6 separate regions of the Homo sapiens genome follow, and all the other regions are linked to region 1. The links are contacts of gene promoters, found by promoter capture Hi-C in blood cells and fetal thymus (Javierre and others, 2016). All regions are on one chromosome and are shown on one strand. The core of a region is centred on a gene start or on the middle of the fragment in contact, and the rest is flanking DNA. Distances in the headings are between cores, read along the strand shown.

Evidence for each region. The method cuts DNA at HindIII sites, captures the fragments that hold promoters and counts their contacts. A CHiCAGO score of 5 or more calls a contact.
Region 2: a fragment that was not itself captured here is called in contact with the fragment with the promoter of TP53TG1 in region 1 in 1 of 17 cell types (total CD8 T cells); the score reaches 6.0 in total CD8 T cells.
Region 3: a fragment that was not itself captured here is called in contact with the fragment with the promoter of TP53TG1 in region 1 in 1 of 17 cell types (non-activated CD4 T cells); the score reaches 5.8 in non-activated CD4 T cells.
Region 4: a contact is called between a fragment that was not itself captured here and the fragment with the promoter of TP53TG1 in region 1, in 3 of 17 cell types (neutrophils, endothelial precursors and naive CD4 T cells). The highest score is 7.7, in neutrophils.
Region 5: a fragment that was not itself captured here is called in contact with the fragment with the promoter of TP53TG1 in region 1 in 3 of 17 cell types (neutrophils, monocytes and activated CD4 T cells); the score reaches 7.3 in neutrophils.
Region 6: a contact is called between a fragment that was not itself captured here and the fragment with the promoter of TP53TG1 in region 1, in 1 of 17 cell types (non-activated CD4 T cells). The highest score is 5.6, in non-activated CD4 T cells.

What each region holds. Positions count from the first base shown.
Region 1 is chr7:87,343,952-87,347,166 of GRCh38, reverse strand. It overlaps TP53TG1 (TP53 target 1), which reads left to right and starts at 1,675. Exons shown (of 3, transcript NR_015381.1): 1 at 1,675-2,124. It overlaps CROT (carnitine O-octanoyltransferase), which reads right to left and starts at 1,503. Exons shown (of 18, transcript NM_021151.4): 1 at 1,400-1,503; 2 at 737-827. RefSeq lists a silencer at 1,478-1,687. The HindIII fragment of the contact is 3,653 bases long and covers 851-3,215 here.
Region 2 is chr7:88,204,932-88,208,106 of GRCh38, reverse strand. SRI (sorcin) reads left to right here. Exons shown (of 8, transcript NM_003130.4): 8 at 1,603-2,992. The coding sequence ends at 1,629. Among named protein-coding and RNA genes, the nearest start is that of SRI-AS1, 10 kb to the left of the region's middle. The HindIII fragment of the contact is 1,518 bases long and covers 720-2,237 here.
Region 3 is chr7:87,935,721-87,938,754 of GRCh38, reverse strand. The region is part of intron 2 of ADAM22 (ADAM metallopeptidase domain 22); the gene reads right to left. Among named protein-coding and RNA genes, the nearest start is that of ADAM22, 3.0 kb to the right of the region's middle. RefSeq lists an enhancer at 2,930-3,034. The HindIII fragment of the contact is 2,286 bases long and covers 164-2,449 here.
Region 4 is chr7:87,896,140-87,899,295 of GRCh38, reverse strand. DBF4 (DBF4-CDC7 kinase regulatory subunit) reads right to left here. Exons shown (of 12, transcript NM_006716.4): 7 at 2,786-2,822; 8 at 1,957-2,002. Among named protein-coding and RNA genes, the nearest start is that of DBF4, 21 kb to the right of the region's middle. The HindIII fragment of the contact is 3,367 bases long and covers 147-3,156 here.
Region 5 is chr7:87,856,807-87,859,930 of GRCh38, reverse strand. SLC25A40 (solute carrier family 25 member 40) reads left to right here. Exons shown (of 12, transcript NM_018843.4): 3 at 1,180-1,300. The coding sequence starts at 1,204. Among named protein-coding and RNA genes, the nearest start is that of SLC25A40, 18 kb to the left of the region's middle. The HindIII fragment of the contact is 3,788 bases long and covers 1-3,124 here.
Region 6 is chr7:87,917,398-87,920,417 of GRCh38, reverse strand. The region is part of intron 1 of LOC124901690 (a long non-coding RNA gene); the gene reads left to right. Among named protein-coding and RNA genes, the nearest start is that of ADAM22, 15 kb to the left of the region's middle. The HindIII fragment of the contact is 2,254 bases long and covers 418-2,671 here.

The DNA.
Region 1 (3,215 bases), core at 426-2,925:
ACTAATCTAATCACTTGAGTCCATAAGAGCAAAGAGCTTTCTCTGGCCAGTGGCAGACAAGTAAGACTGCTTTAATGCTTGAGAAGGATTTGTGGTGTCTTTGAAGATGCAGATGGCCTTAAAGAACTGAAAGAGGCTCAGGCTGACAAACAGTAAGGATATAGAAATGTCAGTGTGAATTCTACCAACAATCTGAAATAGCCTGGAGGTGGATTCTCCCCTAGAGCCTCCAGAAAAGAATCCAAATCTACAGAAACCTTGGTTTCGGTTTTGTGAAATTCTAAGCCAAGTACTCAGCTAAGCCCACCCAAACTTCACATTTACAGAAGCTATGAGATAATACATTTGTGTTGTTTTAATTGTTGCATTTGTGTAATTGGTTAAGGCAGCAATAGAAGACTAGTACACACATACAGAGAAGATAAGCTATTCTGTTTACCTCTGTGCCACTTAATAGACTCTAGAAAACTGGAAGCAAGAGTATTAGTTACATACCCACTATAGTGCTTAACCCACCAACCGGTACACATTAAAAATATAAATTATTGGATTCTTTCTTGAAGAGTTTTCTTGAATTCTCAACCACAAAGATTAAGTTAAATAAGATGGTTCCAATAGCACTAAGAAAATGATTATGCTAGATTTAATTAGAATTGACTTTCTGGGGGCAATTAGATATGAATTCACAGAAAGTGGAAAAGAACCACGAACAATACGTGAAGGAATTGTCACATACCAGTACACCAAGAAGATGAACTGCTTGAGACTGCCAGGAGCCTGCTGCAACAATTGTTTTGAGATCACAGGGAACTGGACTAAGTCGGTGACTGTGGGAAGAAAGAAACAAGCTTAACAAATATTTAAGAGGGAAAAAGAAATGAACAAGCTAGTGAAAGAAGGTGGAATGCAGACAAACTAGGAGTTGGGAGTTCCCAAGACAAACTTTTCGTGAATCACTGCAAACACACGCAAATAGTCCACCTGCTAGAGAGCAGGAGTAAATGATCATACAATTAAGTAGGTTTCAGACAAGTACACCTTCCATTAGACGGGTTCAAAGGGTAGAGGATACGTTTTCAGTGGCTGGGTAACAGGTTCGTCGCAGAGTGGCAAGGGGTAGAAGCAGGAGCAGAGGGCAATGAGAGCTCGGAGGCTCTTCCCACCAACCCAAGAGCAACTCTGCACTCAAGAGGCCATCAAGTGAGAGAAATCTAAGCACTACAACGGAGCAGCCCCGCGGCCCAACCTTGAGGGTACCCCTGAGACCCCAGCAGGCGAGATGCTTGATGACACTACTCCCCCACCAAATCCAGGCACCTTTGCGGTTCTGCACGACTTAACTTTCCCCCGCCCCCGAGTTGAAGGATTAGGGGAGGGAGGGAATGCTGCTTCAACGGACCTGTCCGTCCTCACCGCCCGCGCCTCGCCGCCTCTGCCGCAGCCTCAGCCTGCAGCAGCACCGGCTCGCTCCCCCTTGGGCCTCAAAGGTGCGGGAATTGGACTGAAGGCCGCTAGGGTCCCGCCCCGCATTCGCCGGGGAACAGGATTGGATAGAAAGCCGCGAGGGTCCCGCCCCTCACTTTCCGGGGAACGGGACTGGACGGACAGCTGCAAGGGTCCCGCCCCGTGCCTGACGTCGGGGGCGAGCCGGGCCTGCGCGGTAGTGGGACCCGACCCTGTCTCCAGTGGGCGTCTTGGGCCCCGGCTCTATTCTGGGCTGCGGGCCTGGGAAGGGCTCGCCGGGTGCCAAATGAGCTGTCCTAACTCTGCGGGGCTGCAGCTTCCTGCATGATGCTGGGGAGCTTGGCGCCTGACCCAGGATCTAGAAGGCACTCTGGGCAGGCCGCGCTCCGCCCACGAAGGTACCCAACCCTCTGGGATAGATGCAGGAAGCGATGGTTAAGACCCATTTTCACCCAACTTCTCGCCGCAGGTCTGGCTTACCACACGCTCCTCCCCATTCCCAGTGAGCCGCTTTTTGCAGCACCAGGCGAACACTTACACCAGTGCTTTGTAAAGGAATCTTATTGTCCACCCCGTGTCTTGGCAAAAGAACAGTGATCACACAGATTCCTACTTGGGCTCTTTCCTTTAATCTTCGGAGGCTGAGTTTGCCCAACTCAGGTATGCCGCAGCACACTACATCATCTCGGGTCTCCTTGCTCTTCTGCAGCTCTTCATTGCTACCCAAGTTATTTGAATACCCCAGGGATGCTTACCCCCGGGCCTATCTGATGTCTTTTACTGTTGTGCCAAGAAATGGAATCTTTAACCAGAGTGGAGCTACCCAAGTTCTAGAAGATCATAATGTGATTGACTTAGTTTCACAGATTAATTCATTTTGCTTTTACCTTCTGAAATAAAATATACTGTTTCATTTTTAATTTTAAATACACTGTTTCATTTTTTTGTGGAAGGAAAGACCAAATGTTTACACTGACTCTGAACTAGTTATCAAAGATAAAGATTTAGATTTCAAATTAACATGTCATGACAGGCCCCATTCCTTTGTCTGTCGTTTCTAACTCCTTTAGCAGTAAAGTTTGACCTGAAGGGAAGTGAGGCTATGTGTAACTGAATGTTCCCTTTGTGTAAATATTCATAAGTTTTCTACAGAAATATTGTGTTTGATTACAGTACAGCTTGCTGGAAGTGTTTCATAATATATGGCAGACGTACTATTCTAAGAAAAGTTCTGAATTTTGAAACATATCTAGCCAAAAAGATTTTAAATAAGGGATTAGGAATTTGTAGTTGTAATTTCTGAAGGTGTGATAAAGAACTTTTTCTTTCATATATAAGTGCGATGCTCTGGATGATGTTAAAGTTTGCTTACAAGATAAAGTTTTTAAATTGAGTAACTAAAAACTACTCAGAAACCTTCGTTGTATTTTTTTTCTCCTTTTTAGTGAGTCTTGGCATCTCTTTAAAAGTTTATGCATGTTTAATGCCTGTTGGTGCATAGAATTTAGAACCATTTCGCTTCACTCTTTTTCCTACTCTTGTTGTTTATTTCAATGGAAACAAGATGTTTCTGTAAAGATTCCTGAATTATCGGATAGACAAAAAGGTGTGGGAGTGAAAAAATGAATGGAACACAGATTTGAGTATGTAGAAAAAAATCTTTTAAAATATGTTATACTGATAAGCATATGTACCCCAAATCACCAAAAACAGGTATTTTAAAATATGTTTGGCTTCAAAATGTGTGATAT
Region 2 (3,175 bases), core at 229-2,728, 860 kb before region 1:
TAAACAAATCATGTCAGTCACTGAGAATAGATAACAGCTCAATAGTTTTGCATACCTATGTTCTTCATTGAGGGCATAAGGCAGGCAACAACTTAAATCACAATTTTTTTTTTTTTTTTGAGATGGAGTCTCGCTCTGTTGCCCAGGTTGGAGTGCAGTGGCGCAATGTCAGCTCACTGCAACCTCCACGTCTCGGGTTCTAGCGATTCTCCTGCCTCAGCCTCCTGAGGGACTATAGGCATGTGCCACCATACCTGGTTAAGTTTTTTTGTATTTTTAGTAGAGACGGGGTTTCACTGTGTTAGCCAGGATGGTCTCGATCTCCTGTCCTTGTGATCTGTCCGCTTAGGCCTCCCAAAGTGCTGGGATTACAGGCGTGAGCCACTGCTCCCGGCTAAATCACAATTTAAAACAAGTTATTTACTAAACAGCCAAACTAAACAAGGGTAGGGTAAGGCCATGTAATCAGTGTGAACATAACCTAGTGCCATCTTTGATGGCATTAGCTGGATGTATATAACAAAGCTAGAGAGATTGGTTACTTGTTTCTTCAGTTTTTGCTCAGCCATTGATTTAAAAACAAAAAACAAACAAACAAAAAAACTTGTAGAATTGAAATGACTGTAATCACTGAATATTCCATTCTCCATTACAAAATATAAGATGCATGTATTTTTGGTTTAGCAGCTGCTGCAGTTATAAGTACACTTTTAAAAGCTTAGTATGTGTGTGTGAATATGCTTATTTTACCTGCTTAAGGGTGTGTTCTCTTTAACATGCGTTAACTTCTTAGTTGACAGTCCCCTTGCTGTTTCTAAAGATCAGAAGGCTGCCTGGGGAATGGAAAGAAAGACCATGGGCTTTGACTTCAGATGGGGCTACTTAAAAGATTTCTAAACATCCTGATCCTTATTTTCCTTTTCTCTAAAATAGGGATAATCACCTTGACCTTGCAATAGAGCTGCAAGGGTTAGCAGTGCACAATACCTTAGTAGTGTAGGGAACACTGATAGAGCAGAATCTATTGCTTTATGTTTAGCGGGGAAGCCAACATTTCACAGCAAATACTGGTATTTCTAATCTCAGGTATCTGAAGGGTTAGCTGTTCTGTTTCTGTGCATACATACACTTGCATGCTACAATTTGTTTTAATAAAGCAGATTTTAAGGCAATAAACTGTTTAAGGTGTTCCATTAGAGTAATGGGGTAATACTGTGTGGTTTGGAAATCCCCACGTAATACAACAGTATAAACTCCAGTTGTTTGTGTTTGTGGTAAGTGTCTTTGACCACGGCCATTTCTAGTCTTGGATATTATTTGGAATTTAAATAATTATTCAAATAATTATTTAAATTATTTATCCATTGAAGTTATATCTGCTTTCTCTAAGAAGTTTTGATGTGAGAAACCCTGTGGATTTTATATTAGACTGCTTCCCTAAAAAAAGGAAACTTTTCCATCTATCATTTACTCATATCTTAGAAAGTTGTAGGGGTTGTTTTACCCGTGTTCAAATTAGAAAACCAAATGTAAGCTGCCAGAAATAGGCTGTGCCGTATAAGTGCTTTGAGGTCTGTCATATAATGCTGATTTTTCTTTCAGTTCATTCAATGTGTCATGAGTGTTTAAATCAAGAGGAAGCTGCATGAATGTAATCAACATTCCAACTGGAGCTCTCCTTTGCTTGTCCTCTTTGCCTTCGGTAATATGTATAAACTTACATCACGACTTTCTCTTAACAGCTGTTGTAAAGTTTATTACTTTATGTACAACTGAAGTTTTGTTTTAGTTTTGATAATAAATTCTTTGGAACTTTAATAAGATCTAGTCTGTTACACCATTTAGAACTTTCCTGAGCCATTATCAGTCATGCCTTATTTTCTTGCTAAAACTCTATGTAAATTTAAGTATGCAAAATGTTTAAGTCACATTATTTATTTTTCATTGTGAGACACTAAAAACTGTTAATCAGACTACAGCTGTTATCTTTCCTCTCCTACAAAGAATACTCCACACATAAAAACTTAGGTAAATGACATAGACGCACTTGGGTGAAATAAAACAACAAAAAAGGTAATCCAGTAATCCACGTCAGGATTCACCTTAGAAGTTTAGCACACGCCCTTCAAAACCTGTTGAATAATTTGATTGGCAAATACTATCTGTCACCAAGTCCCTTTTTGTCATCTATTTAAACCTTTGTTAACTCTCCTTAAAAATCTTGTACATTATAAGCTTAACTATATAAAAAGAAAATTGATAGAAAAAGACTAAGGGAATATATGGAAATATTAACAATGTTTATTTTGGATGAATGGAATTCTAGATGACTTTAATTTTCTTTATATCAGTATTTTTCAGATTTTCTATATGCTTTCCTTTTAAAATCAGATTTTAGTTTTTAAAATACTGATACATCCATTTTGATATACCATGTATTCACACTTTAAAAAATACACATAGCAGAGTATCGGAAAGTATGTACCAAAACATTGATCTGGCTACCACTGGGAGTCAGGATCATGAGTTCATCTTCTTCCTTCTTACTGCTTTTCCAAACATTCTCCAGTAAGCAGGTACTACATTTATAATGGAAGGAATTTTTTAAAAAATTTTAAGCTGTACACTTTCAAGTAAGATCTGAATTCTAATGCTGGCTTGTGCCTCTTACTATGTGGTTTGGTCATTATAGATAATGCCCAGTTTCAGTTTCCCCATCTTTGAAAAGGAGATAATATGTTATCTCTTGGGAGTAGTTCTGAATATGAAGTGTGTTGATACAAGAAGCACTGACAATGTTTCTGTTTCTTAAATTTAAAACTGGCCTGGTTTGCCTTTTTTATCAAGAGAGCTTAACAGATAAAAAATGAAATTAGTCTATTTTCTACTTGCCAGCAGAGTATCTGTCTTATTTTAGGATGCAGTGTGAAACTTACCATTCAACTGAACAACTAGTTGTCAACTAATGAAAATAAAACATTTTCTCTAAGCATCTTTAGCCTCATTTCACTATTAATTTTTTAAAATATTGTTAAAATATATATTATTCAAACCTAACATATAACTATGGCAAGTTAGTTAGCCCAGGTTACATATCAGAATGTGAAGCAGCCTGCTATATATTACACAGTGACTATAGATTGCATCATCTCCGTATATTGTCTGTGAGGCCATA
Region 3 (3,034 bases), core at 57-2,556, 590 kb before region 1:
TCGCTTGAACCAGGGAGGTGGACCTTGCCATGAGTTGAGATTGTGCCGCTGCACTCCATCCAGCCTGGGCAAGAGAGTGAGACTCCATCTCAAAAGAAAAAAATAAATAAAATAAATAAATAAATGCCTTTTAAAGAAACAAATCAACAAATCTATATAAGCTTTTTGAGTTCACAGAAAATCACCCTGATTTTATTTATGAAGTAGAAAGGAAGTTGATAAACATATCTATGGGTGGCCAGGCATGGTGGCTCATGTTTGTAATCCCAGCACTTTGGGTGGCCGAGGTGGGAGGATCACTTGAGGTCAGGAGTTCTAGACCAGCCTGGCCAAAATGGTGAAACCCTGTCTCTACTAAGAATACAAAAATTAGCTGGGCATGGTGGTGGGTGCCTGTAATCCCAGTTATTCAGGTGGCTGAGACAGGAATATCGCTTGAACCCAGGAGGTGGAGGTTGCAATAAGCTGAGATCACGCCATTGCACTCCAGCCTGGGTGACAGAGCAAGACTCCATCTCACAAAAAAAAAAAAAAAAAAAAAAAAAAATCTATGGGTATCTAAAATTAAAATGCCATAAATTAGAACTATTTAAGTATTAGAGAAATAACAAGGGCCATAAAAAATCAACTTATGTTTTTCAATCCAATGATTGCTCTTAGGGAAACTAGAAATGCCAATAGTGCAAGAAAACTCCTCTGTTTCCTAACTGTAGGAAAAGTTGGCCTAAGATAAACAGGTCTTTAAAATTTTGTCAGATTTGGTCCTAGTTGTCAATGATTTCCACCTGTAGTTTAAGCAGCATGGTAAAGTGCAGTGGCTCCCAAGTGATAGAGACATCAACATGTACTATGTGTACCTTACTATGTACACATATCCCAGGCACTGGGATAACGTTTTGTAATAATTACTATAAGATGGTATCATTGCTTTCATTTCTGACTTGAATTAATCATCTATTCATACTTTTAAACCTAAATCCTACCAATTCATTCATACTTCACCAAAAACCAGTCATTCTTCTCTATTGTGATGTTTATTGCTATAGGGAGTAGAAGCTCTATGAACCCAAAATAGCTTTCCACCCCAAGTCAAGACTCCTGTGAATCAAAAAACTGCACAAGTGGTGCTCCATAAATGGGGAGAAAAGGAGGACTGACCTCCTCCACTTTTCAAAAGTGGTGGTCTTTCACCAACACAGAAAAGGCAAGAGGTACCCAAAGACATTTCCAGCATGAGTCAGAGATTCTGTGAGTTTCCAGGTTCAATCCTGTCATTTTCTTTTTCTGTATCTCTTCTTCCCTCAGTCTCTCTTCCTCTCCTAGAAAGTCTTTGTGAATTGTTTTAAAGCACTGGCTACAACAGCAAAATCTTGACTCTGAGCAACTCTACAAGATGAAAGACTCCATGTCTTCACTGAAAAAATTGCAAGGGGAAAAAAAAGAAATAGAGGGGAAAGAACCACACATTAAAAGACCTTTTAGAAAACAGAAAAACAGGCTAGGCCCCCACAACTCACACCTGTAATCCCAGCATTTTGGGAGGCCGAGGCCAGCAGATGATTTGAGCCCAGGAGTTCAAGGCCAGCCTGCGCAACATGGTGAAATCCCATCTTTACAAAAACAAATTTTTAATTAGCCAGATAAGGTGGCACATGCCTGTAATCCAAGCTACTCAGGAAGCTGAGGTGGAAGGATCACTGGGGCCCAAGAGGTCAAGGCTGCTGTGAGCCATAATCGTGCTACTGCACTCCTGTCTGGGTGACAGAGTGAGACCCTGTCACAAAAAATAAATAAATAAACTAATTGCAATCTACAGACATTATCTGGGTCCTGGTCCAGACAAACTTACTTAAATATATACTCTAAATATACTCTCTCTCTCTATATATATATATATAATATATATACACACACATATAAACATTCACACACATACATATACATATATACATACATATTTACGAGAACTGGAAATTTGAAAAACAGGATATTTGATAGTAGTAAGAAATTACTCCTAATTTTTGAAAATACAGTAACATGGTTGCATTTTTAAAAGAATCCTTACTGTTTAGTGGTAAATTCCTATAATTTTTATGAATGAAATGATATGATTTGCTTCAATACAATATAGAGAGGGAAAGGAAATAGAAAAAGAAATACGTAGGGTATAGACAAAACAAGATTGGCCATGAGTTGCTAATTGTTGGAGCTGGGGGTTCATTAATTTATCCTACTCTTTTGTGTTTGAAATTTTTTATAATAAAAGGTTGCAAATGGTGTGAAAATATCCTTCCACAGAAATAATCTTAATTAATTGAAAAATACGATGACATAGGGAAACTATGGCCCCTGCTTCTTCAGTTTTACCATTGAAACGAGTCAAAATGGAAAAGGAAAATAGGCATTTACCAACCATTAATTCACATAAAAGAATCCATCATTAAAAGCTTAACATATTGGGATTTTCTACTAAAATAATCTTTGATGGATATTATGTAGCCCTTTAAGCTAATTTCCCACCTTCTATTAACAAAATGTTAACAGTACCAACTACTTGGCTACAAATACAGATTTAAGTAATATTTTCTATTTTTACATATTTCACACATACAGATAAGTTAGTATAATTATCACATCATCAAGATATATCTTAAAGCACTGATGAATATATTTATACATGTGAAAAGGTTTGGCTTGCCATTGCTTCAGTAAAGTTTACAAAAATTTTCAAGTACATGAACAAGTCCTATCTTAATATGGACTTACAGGTGGGTGAACTGCCTGATCAGCTGATGTGTAGAAATAAAAAAATACACAGCCCCAGAAGTATTTACTTAAATTTGTCAATAAATTCACAGTAATTTTCAGGCATATCTGTGAATGTGTGATCTTGATTTAAATACAGATACAGTGATAAAAACTAGATTTTTAAAAACATAATTTATAAATGCTCAACAAACAGCACAGCCCTAATTAAACCAAGAGAACTGCTACCAATAAAGAAAGTCGGAGGAGGACACCTTTTCTAGAAGGT
Region 4 (3,156 bases), core at 581-3,080, 550 kb before region 1:
CTTTCGGTTGCCTTTTTACTGTTATATCCCTTTAGGCACAGAAATTTATATTTTTGATATGGTCCAATTTAATTATTTTATCTTTTGTAATCTGTGTTTTTGGTGTCACGTCCAGGAAAGCACTGCAAATCCAATGTCATGAAGCTTTTCCCCTGTGTTCTCTCCAAGAGTTTTACCATTTTAGGTCTTTGGTCCATTTTGAGTTAATTTTTGAACATGATGTGAGGTAGGAGTCTAATGCCATTCTTTTGCATGTGTATATCTAGTTTTCTCAACACTGTTAAAAAAGACTGTCCTTTCTCCATTAAATTATCTTCATACCCTTGTTGAAAATCATTTGGCCATATGTGTGATGGTTTATTTCTAGGCTCTCTATTCTATTCCATTCGTTTATATGTCTTTATTCCAATGCCAAATTGTTCTGATTTCTGTAGCATTACAGTAAGTTTTAAAACCAGAAAGTGTGAGACCTCTTACTTTGTTGTTCTTTTTTTTTTTTTTTTTTGAGACGGAGTCTTGCTCTGTCCCCCAGGCTGAAGTGTAGTGGCGTGATCTCGGCTCACTGCAAGCTCTGCCTCCCGGGTTCACGCCATTCTCCTGCCTCAGCCTCCTGAGTAGCTGGGACTACAGGTGCCCGCCACCAGGCCCGGCTAATTTTTTATATTTTTAGTAGAGACAGGGTTTCACCGTATTAGCCAGGATGGTCTCCATCTCCTGAACTCGTGATCTGCCTGCCTCGGCCTCCCAAAGTGCTAGGATTACAGGAGTGAGCCACCGCGCCTGGCCTTTGTTGTTATTTTTAATGATTGTCTTGGGTTTCCTGCATCTGTTACAATTCCGTATGAATTCTAGGATACGTTTTTACTATTTCTGCAAAAAACATCATTGGGATTTTGATAGGGATTGCAGTGAATCTGTAGATCACTTTGGGTGGTATTAACATCTTAACAATATTATATCTTCCAATTCATGAACATGGGATGTCCTTTCGTATACTAGTGTCTTTTCTAGGCCTCCTTTTGAATTGCACTTTTTTCTTCACAGCAACACATTTCATAAAAAGCAGTTTTCAATACACTTTTGTCGCCTCAGTGTGAGTACCCAAGAGAATTAACCACAGATGTCTAAATGAATAAGTGGAAAGAAAAAAGAAAGTAATCTAATTCTCTCATGGCAGGCCTATTTATATCTGTGGTCTTCATTAAGATTATCCCACATGGCTGGGCACAGTGGCTCACGCCTGTAATCCCCGCACTTTGGGAGGCTGAGGCAGGCGGATCACTTGAGGTCAAGAGTTAGAGACTAGCCTGGCCAACATGGTGAAACCCCATCTCTACTAAAAATACAAACATCAGCTGGGCATGGTGGCGTAGACCCATAATCCCAGCTACTTGGGAGGCTGAGGCAGGAGAATTGCTTGAACCGGGGGTGGGGTGGACGTTGCAGTGAGCCGAGATCGTGCCACTGCACTCTAGCCTGGGTGACAGAGCAAGACTCCATCTCAAAAAATCAAAACAAACAACAACAACAACAAGACTATCCTACAATACTTCAGAATTTTGGAAATCAACCATGTTAGATGTTATACTTAGATTTTCTGTTTCTAAATAGCATCTAATAATTTCTTTTTCGCAAATGAAGGCGTAATCTTTCAGTAGTTCTAAATCATTTGGTACTGCATTTAGCCAGAGAATAATTTAAATACTAAAAAAACGGTGTCATGATTTTTCTAAACCAGCTATTTCAGGAATATCTACAACATACTGAAACTAAATTCAGTCCTTGAGCACAAATGAATTAATGCTACTTTCGTTAACTTGTGCCGCATGCACATTAGTATAATATAAATCAAACACAAAGGAACCTAACAGTACTAATCGAGCTAGCCTAATTAGTTAGGTGATTTTCCTCTTTAGTATTGCACTTAAATCATACAGATTGGACTTAAATACTTACTGGCTCATATCTTCCACCTTTACAAAAGGCTTTTTGAGTCTTCCTGCTTGAGAACATAGAAAACATATTAGATACTTGCAAATTCAGGATTCTTTTTTTTTTTTAATAAAACTACTGTGGCAAAACAAAACCCTCCAAACAAAAAACTATGTATCCACTTTAAAGTTTTAAGCCTCAGATGAGGTACTTCCATTATCACCTCATTTCCAAAAATAACAGAAGCTCTCTCCTATATTCTGAGATTCTTAAACTAAATGGAACCCTCAAATTAACAGGATTCAGGAAGGTCATAAATTAGAACAGGAGAAAAACTACACTATTGTCTTCACTAACCTCAAACTGAAATTTAGCATTTCCTTCAATTATAAATGTAACAAATCACACTATTCGCAGTACCTGCGACTTTGATGCTAATAGAAACTGCACATATTTTCATCAGTTATGAACTGCTTGAGCAGATATCTCAAAGCATTGTTTACGCTTATCAATTCAAAATGAAGTGGCAATTAGATTCACTGCTAGAATCTGTTCTGTGTAATAAAAAGCAAGTTATCACTATTTCACAATTAAAAACTATTTTGGTAACTACATTTTAATATAATTCATTTTCTTGGTAGACTAATGATTTTTAAAGGAAACGTTTTAAAAAAAACATCATTCTGAAAATGCGGTCCACAGGCTTCACCAAACTTCACCAAGGATCTATGTTCTATAAAGACGAAGAAAGCCTTGAATAAATCATTTAGAGGGTGGTTTATATGATTTTAGAAGATCTTTTATGATTTTTCAAATGCAAACCAAATACACTTAAAGATCACAAAATACTTACTTCTTGTTTTTTGTGCACCACTACCAACTCTTTTGCCCTAAAAAAAAATATATAGTGAAAAGATTGGCTTTGAAAGTACAGTTAAAACAGCAACTGCAATTGCTCAGTATCTTCAAGATAAAAAAATCATGCAGAAAAGTGCTATATCAAAGAAGGATTATTCTTTGTTAAAAAAAACTATTGTTTTTAAATGTTTTACAATACACTCAGCAAGTACCTTGCATTCTAGCTATAATTGATTTTGACTTCATAAAAAGAAAACCAATAATGAAAAGGTAGTTAATGAAATGTTTTTTTAAAAGTCATATTATTTTTATGCCCTTATTCAGCAAAATCTTTGTATTAAATTGAATAAAGAAATTAGTCAACAT
Region 5 (3,124 bases), core at 320-2,819, 510 kb before region 1:
AGCCACCACACCTGGCCCTGTATCAAGTTTTAAAATAGCTTATCCCATCAATCTTACTATCTTTCCTACAGTAATTGTAGGAAGGTTACAAAAATATATATATGTATGTATAAGAATGTTATAGCAGAATATTTTATAGTTTGGAAATTGGCAACAACCTGATATCTAACAATCTGAAACTGATTAAATAAATATAATTAACTACCGTGCAAGCAATAAAAATGTAAATCTGTTTTTATTGACACAATGTCTATAATGTGTTTTTAAGTGTTAAAGCAGCCTACTAAACAAGCAAAATAGTATTGACCTGTTTTTCAGAAAAGCTGTATGTACACGGACACATAAGTGTACGTGTGTTTGATTAATATACAATATTTGGTTAGATGTAATGTGTGTGTATAGACATATACATATGTATGTGTGTATGTTCATAGACATTTGGAAAGATGACATTCCTGTTGCTGGTGATTATTATTATTATTTTTTTTTGAGACAGAGTCTTGCTCTGTTGCCCAGGCTGGAGTGCAGTGGTGCGATCTCGGCTCACTGCAAGCTCCGCCTCCTGGGTTCACGCCATTCTCCTGCCTCAGCCTCCCGAGTAGCTGGGACTACAGACACCTGGCTAATTTTTTGTATTTTTAGTTGAGACAGGATTTCACCATGTTAGCCAGGTTGGTCTCGATCTCCCGACCTCATGATGCGCCCGCCTCGGCCTCCAAAAGTGCTGGGGTTACAGGTGTGAGCCACCACGCCTGGCCGGTGATTATTTTTGAATAGTAAGTTCATAAGTTATTTTTATACTGTTCTGTATTATCTGACTTTTTAAAACTTTTTATGTTTTTATGTTGCTTTTCTCATCAAATTTTTGTAAGATAAAACTTATTAAGGTTATGTGTTTTTATTTTACATCTGTACAACAACTACTGGTATACAATAAAGGGCTGTATTTGCTGATACCTCTGTACTCTATTGGGGAGGTTTTTTTAGTAGTGTGTATGAGGCTGAGTTCACAGACTCAGACTTAGTGGTCACCTGCTTTCATTCTGTCAGTATCTGTTTGGTTAATTCTCTCTTAGTTGTCTTACTAATGTGATGCTGCTCACCCAGCTTAGCTGAAGGATGTTATCATTTTTGAAAGATCAGAGGATGTGCTCTAATTTTATGTTTTCTTTTTAACAGGTTTTTATTTAATTAGTTAAAAATATGGATCCTGAGACAAGGGGACAAGAGATTATCAAAGTGACACCTCTTCAACAAATGCTTGCCTCATGTACTGGAGCTATACTGACATCAGTAATAGGTAAAATTATGTTACTGATGTAGATTATGTAACTTTGAATGAGTCAGTGCTTCCATTTGAGTTTTAGTATCAGTATTTCAACGTAGTTTCTTTCTATTTTCCATAAGTATTGGCTGGCTGAGAAATAAAGAGTACAAAGAGAGGAATTTTACAGCTGGGCCTCCGGGGGTGACATCACATATTGGTAGGACCGTGATTGCCCACCTGAGCTGCAAAACTAGCAAGTTTTATTAAGGATTTCAAAAGGGGAGGGGGTGTAAGAACAGGGAGTAAGGTCACAAGATCACATGCTTCAAAGGGTAAAAAGGAGAACAAAAATCACATGCTTCTGAGGAAACAGGACAAGGGCAAAATCACAGACTCCTGATAAGGGTCCAGCAAAGATCACAAGGCAAAGGGCAAAAGCAGAATTACTGATAAGGGTCTATGTTCAGCAGTGCACGTTTTGTCTTGATAAACATCTTAAACAACAGAAAAGAGGGTTTGAGAGCAGAGATCCAGTCTGACCTCAAATTTACCAGGGTGGAGTTGCCCAATCCTAGTAAGCCTGAGGGTACTGCAGGAGACCAGGGCGTATTTCAGTCTTTATCTCAACGGCATAAGACAGACACTCCCAGAGTGGCCATGTATAGACCTCCCACCAGGAATGCATTCCTTCCCCAGGGTATGAATTATTAATATTCCTTGCTAGGAAAATAATTTAGCAATATCTTCCCTACTTGCATGTCCGTTTATAGGCTATCTGCAAGAAGAAAAATATGGCTCTATTTTGCCCGACCCTGCGGGCAGTCAGACCTTATGGTTGTCTTCCCTTGTTCCCTAAAATCGCTGTTATTCTGTTCTTTTTCAAGGTGCACTTATTTCATATTGTTCAAACATACATGTTTTACAATCAATTTGTACAGTTATCACAATTATCATAGTGGCCCTGATGTGATGTACATCCTTAGCTTATAAAAATAACAGGATTAAGAGATTAAAGTAAGACAGGGGTAAGAAATTATGAAAGTATTATTTGGGAACTGGTAAATGTCCATGAAATCTTCAGAATTTATGTTCCTTTGCTGCGGCTCCACCTGGTCCCTCCATTCAGGATCCCTGACTTCCTGCAACACATACTATCATTTATGATCCATGAATGTTTCATCATATTATTATATGAAAACAACCCTGGACAGAGATTCAAGAGACTTGAGTCCTTGCTTTGCCATTCTCACGGTGAATACACTTGGGAACAGTATCTAACTTTTATTTGAACTTCATTATTTCATCTGTAAATTAGGGGCTTATAACTGGGATTTCTTTTGGGTCCCTATCAACATTAAACTTTTCTGATTCCCCATGTCTATAATAGAAAGCAAGAAGATGGAATAAAATATTAGCATAATGAATAATACAGAATTTTCACAATTTATGTTCGTAACAATTACAAATAATCTTTACTTTGCATTAACGGAATTTCTTAAATTTCTCTGGTTCACAGTTTTCTGTTTCTTACAGTCAGCTTCTTGTAGATGTAGCCAAATGACACAGTTAGGTGATAGTTTAGCATTTTAATGATTTTTAAGTTGGCTAGTTTATGTAAATAACAAATGATTAGAACAAATAAATTAATTGCTTATGATGTATTTTCAGGTCAGAATTTGAGTTATAAAGGTCATAGAGATCATCTAATATAATTATCATCATTCTCAAGATGAGGAAAAGTTTTCTTAGAAACATTATTTGGCATTTGTTTCTACTTGGATAAAATATAGCATGCATATTAAAACTATTTTCCTTTGCTGTGCTATGCCCAAATGGAATAACATAACTTAGTGCTAA
Region 6 (3,020 bases), core at 295-2,794, 570 kb before region 1:
ACCAGGGTAAGTGTTCTGGTTTCTCTGGCAATGGGCAGGGCCATAAAGCTTCCACAAGTTTTTGTCTTTTGTGTGTGGCTACCAGGGCAGGTAGAGAAATATCATCAGGTGGAGGCAGGGTTAGGCGGGTCTGAGCTCAGACTCTCCTTAGGTGGTGCTTGCCATGGCCACTGTGGGGATGGGGGTGTGGTTCTCAGACCGATGGGGTTATGTTCCAGAGGAGATTATGGCTGCCTCGGCTGTGCCATATGGTTCACCAGGGAAGTAGGGGATAGCCAGTAGCAAAAGACCTCACCCAACTCTCACGTTGTTGGCAAGGCTGGTCTTGCCTCTGCGGTGTCCTGCTAACAGGGCCAAGTTTAGTTAGATGCAGGAAGCCTGTGCATGGAACTCAGCCCTTTCCCCATGCTGTAAGCTTCCCAGGTGAGAAAGCAAACTTGACTTTTAGGCCTTGCTCCTCTCCGTCTGCTCACAATGTTGGTGAAGCCTCCTGCACTTGTATCTGCAGCAGTTCCCCATTCACCCCCCGGATTCTGTTCAAGATAGTTCATACCCATTTGAAATTATTACAGAATTTCACTGGAAGCATCTTTCACCCTATGACCCCTCCCTAATTTTGCTGTCTTCCTTGCCTGAGGGCCCCTGCAAAATCCAGTTAGGGATAGTTTCCGTGGGCTCAAGCTGGAGACTGGGTGTGCCTATAAGGCTCTTGCTGCTGCTTCTACTTTTATATTTTACACAGCTCTCTAAATGTGTTTCAGCTCTAGATAAGGTTAAATCTTTCTTCCGTAATCTGGATTTTCATATTCGCCAGTAGGGATATGTGTTCGGAGGCAGGTTTTCCCCTCTCACACTTTGGGAACTCAGTTTTTTGCCTGTCTCGCAGAATTTGCAGTGGCATCAGTTGGGCAATTCAAAAATGAAATTGCAATATAAGAGGCTGAAGGTTAATGTTCTTCCCTAATTAATGTCACTGAGTCTCTTCCTTCTCCTGAAAATATGAAGTTTTCATTGTTTAAAAAATGTTCTTAGAAACTTAAAAAAATCCTATTTGAAATATGAATGTATATTCTGGCCAGAAAGAATGAATGCATATAAATGTGTTTGTATAAAAAGCTAAAATGTTATGGCCTTTATAATTTCTAAGCCAGCAAAACAAATTAAATTATGTTTGTAACAAATAAGTTTTTAAGTATAATCTTGCACATAAAAGATACTTTTTATTTTCTGTATTGCTAAGAACTAGCAGCAATCCATAAATATACTAAGATATGATAATGGTAAAAAGCAAAGATGCTGAAAAGATAACATGTTTAAAGGAAATACAGTTTCTCTGAGATGTGTGTGGGGGTGGGGGTTGAGAATAGGGAAATAGTTTCCTTGGAGTATGTTTGAAGTAGTGTCCTACAGGCCACGTCTTGCCTATTTCATGTATAGATCTTTATCTCTTGTCATGCATTGCTTAATGATGGGGATACATTCTGAGGAATATACCCTTAGGCAACATCATTAATGTAACAATATCATAGAGTGTACTTACACAAACCTAGATGGTATAGCCTACTACACACCTAGGCTACATGGTATAGCCTATTGCTCCTAGGCTGTAAACCTGTTTATCATGTTATTGTACTGAATACTGTAGGCAGTTATAATACATTGGTAAATATTTATGTATCTAAACATAGAAATGGTACAGTAAAAATACAATGTGAAAGATAAAAAATGGTACACCTATATAGGGTACTTACTATGAATGGAGGTTACAGGACTCAAAGTTGCTCTGGGTGAGTCAGTGAGTGAGTGGTGAGTGAATGTGAAGGCCTAGGACATTATTATGTACTACTGTAGACTTTATAAACACTGTACACTTAGGCTGCACTAAACATTAAAAATTTAAGTAATTGTGCTACAAAATTATGGCAGCTATGATGTCAGTAGATGATAGGAATTTTTCAGCTCTATTATAATTTTATGGGATTACCATCATATATGTGGTTCATCATTGAGTGAAACATCATTATGCGGCACATGGCTGTATTTCTATACAATTGAATTAAACTACAAATCAATAACAGAATGATAGCTGGAAAACCTCAAAAATACTTGGATATTATCAACACACTTTTAATTAACATATGGGTTAGAGAAGAAATCTCAAGAGAAATGTTAAAATATTTTGAACTAAATCAAAATGAAAATACAACTTACCAGAATTTTGGAGGTGCAGTGAGTACTTAGAGGGAAATGTATAGCATTGAATGCATATATTAGAAAACAATAAATATTTAAAATAAATAATATGTGTTTACCTTAGGGAACTAGAAAAAGAAGGGCAAATTAAATTCCAAGTAAGCAGCAGAAAAAAATAACCAAAATTAGAACAGAAATCAATTAAATTGAAAATAGGAAATCAAAAGAGAAAATCAATAAAACCAACAACTAGTTTTGGAAAATATCAATAAAATTGCCAAACTTCCAGCCACGTCAACAAAGAAAAGAAAGAGAAGACACAAATTATTAATATCAGAAATGAAAGACAAGCTATGACTATTGATCCCATTGACTTTAAAAGGATAATAAAGAACTATCATAAACAACATTAAGTCTCCAAATTTGATAACCTAGCTGAAATGGACTGATTCCTTGAAAGACATACTATACCAAAGCTTACACAAGGAGAAATAGATAATCGAAATAGGCCTATGTCTATTAAATAAATTGAATCAGGCCGGGCACAGTGGTTCATGCCTGTAATACCAGCACTTTGGGAGGCTGAAACAGGAAGATCACTTGAGGTCAGGAGTTTGAGATCAGCCTGGCCAATATGGTGAAACCCTTTCTCTACTAAAAATACAAAAATTAGCCATGCATGGCGATGGGCACCTGTAATCCCAGCTACTTGGGAGGCTGAGGCAGGAGAATCACTTGAACCCGGGAGACGGAGGTTGCAGTGAGCCGAGATCATGCCACTGGACTCCAGCCTGGGCGACAAGAGTGAAACTCCGTCTCAAAAAGTA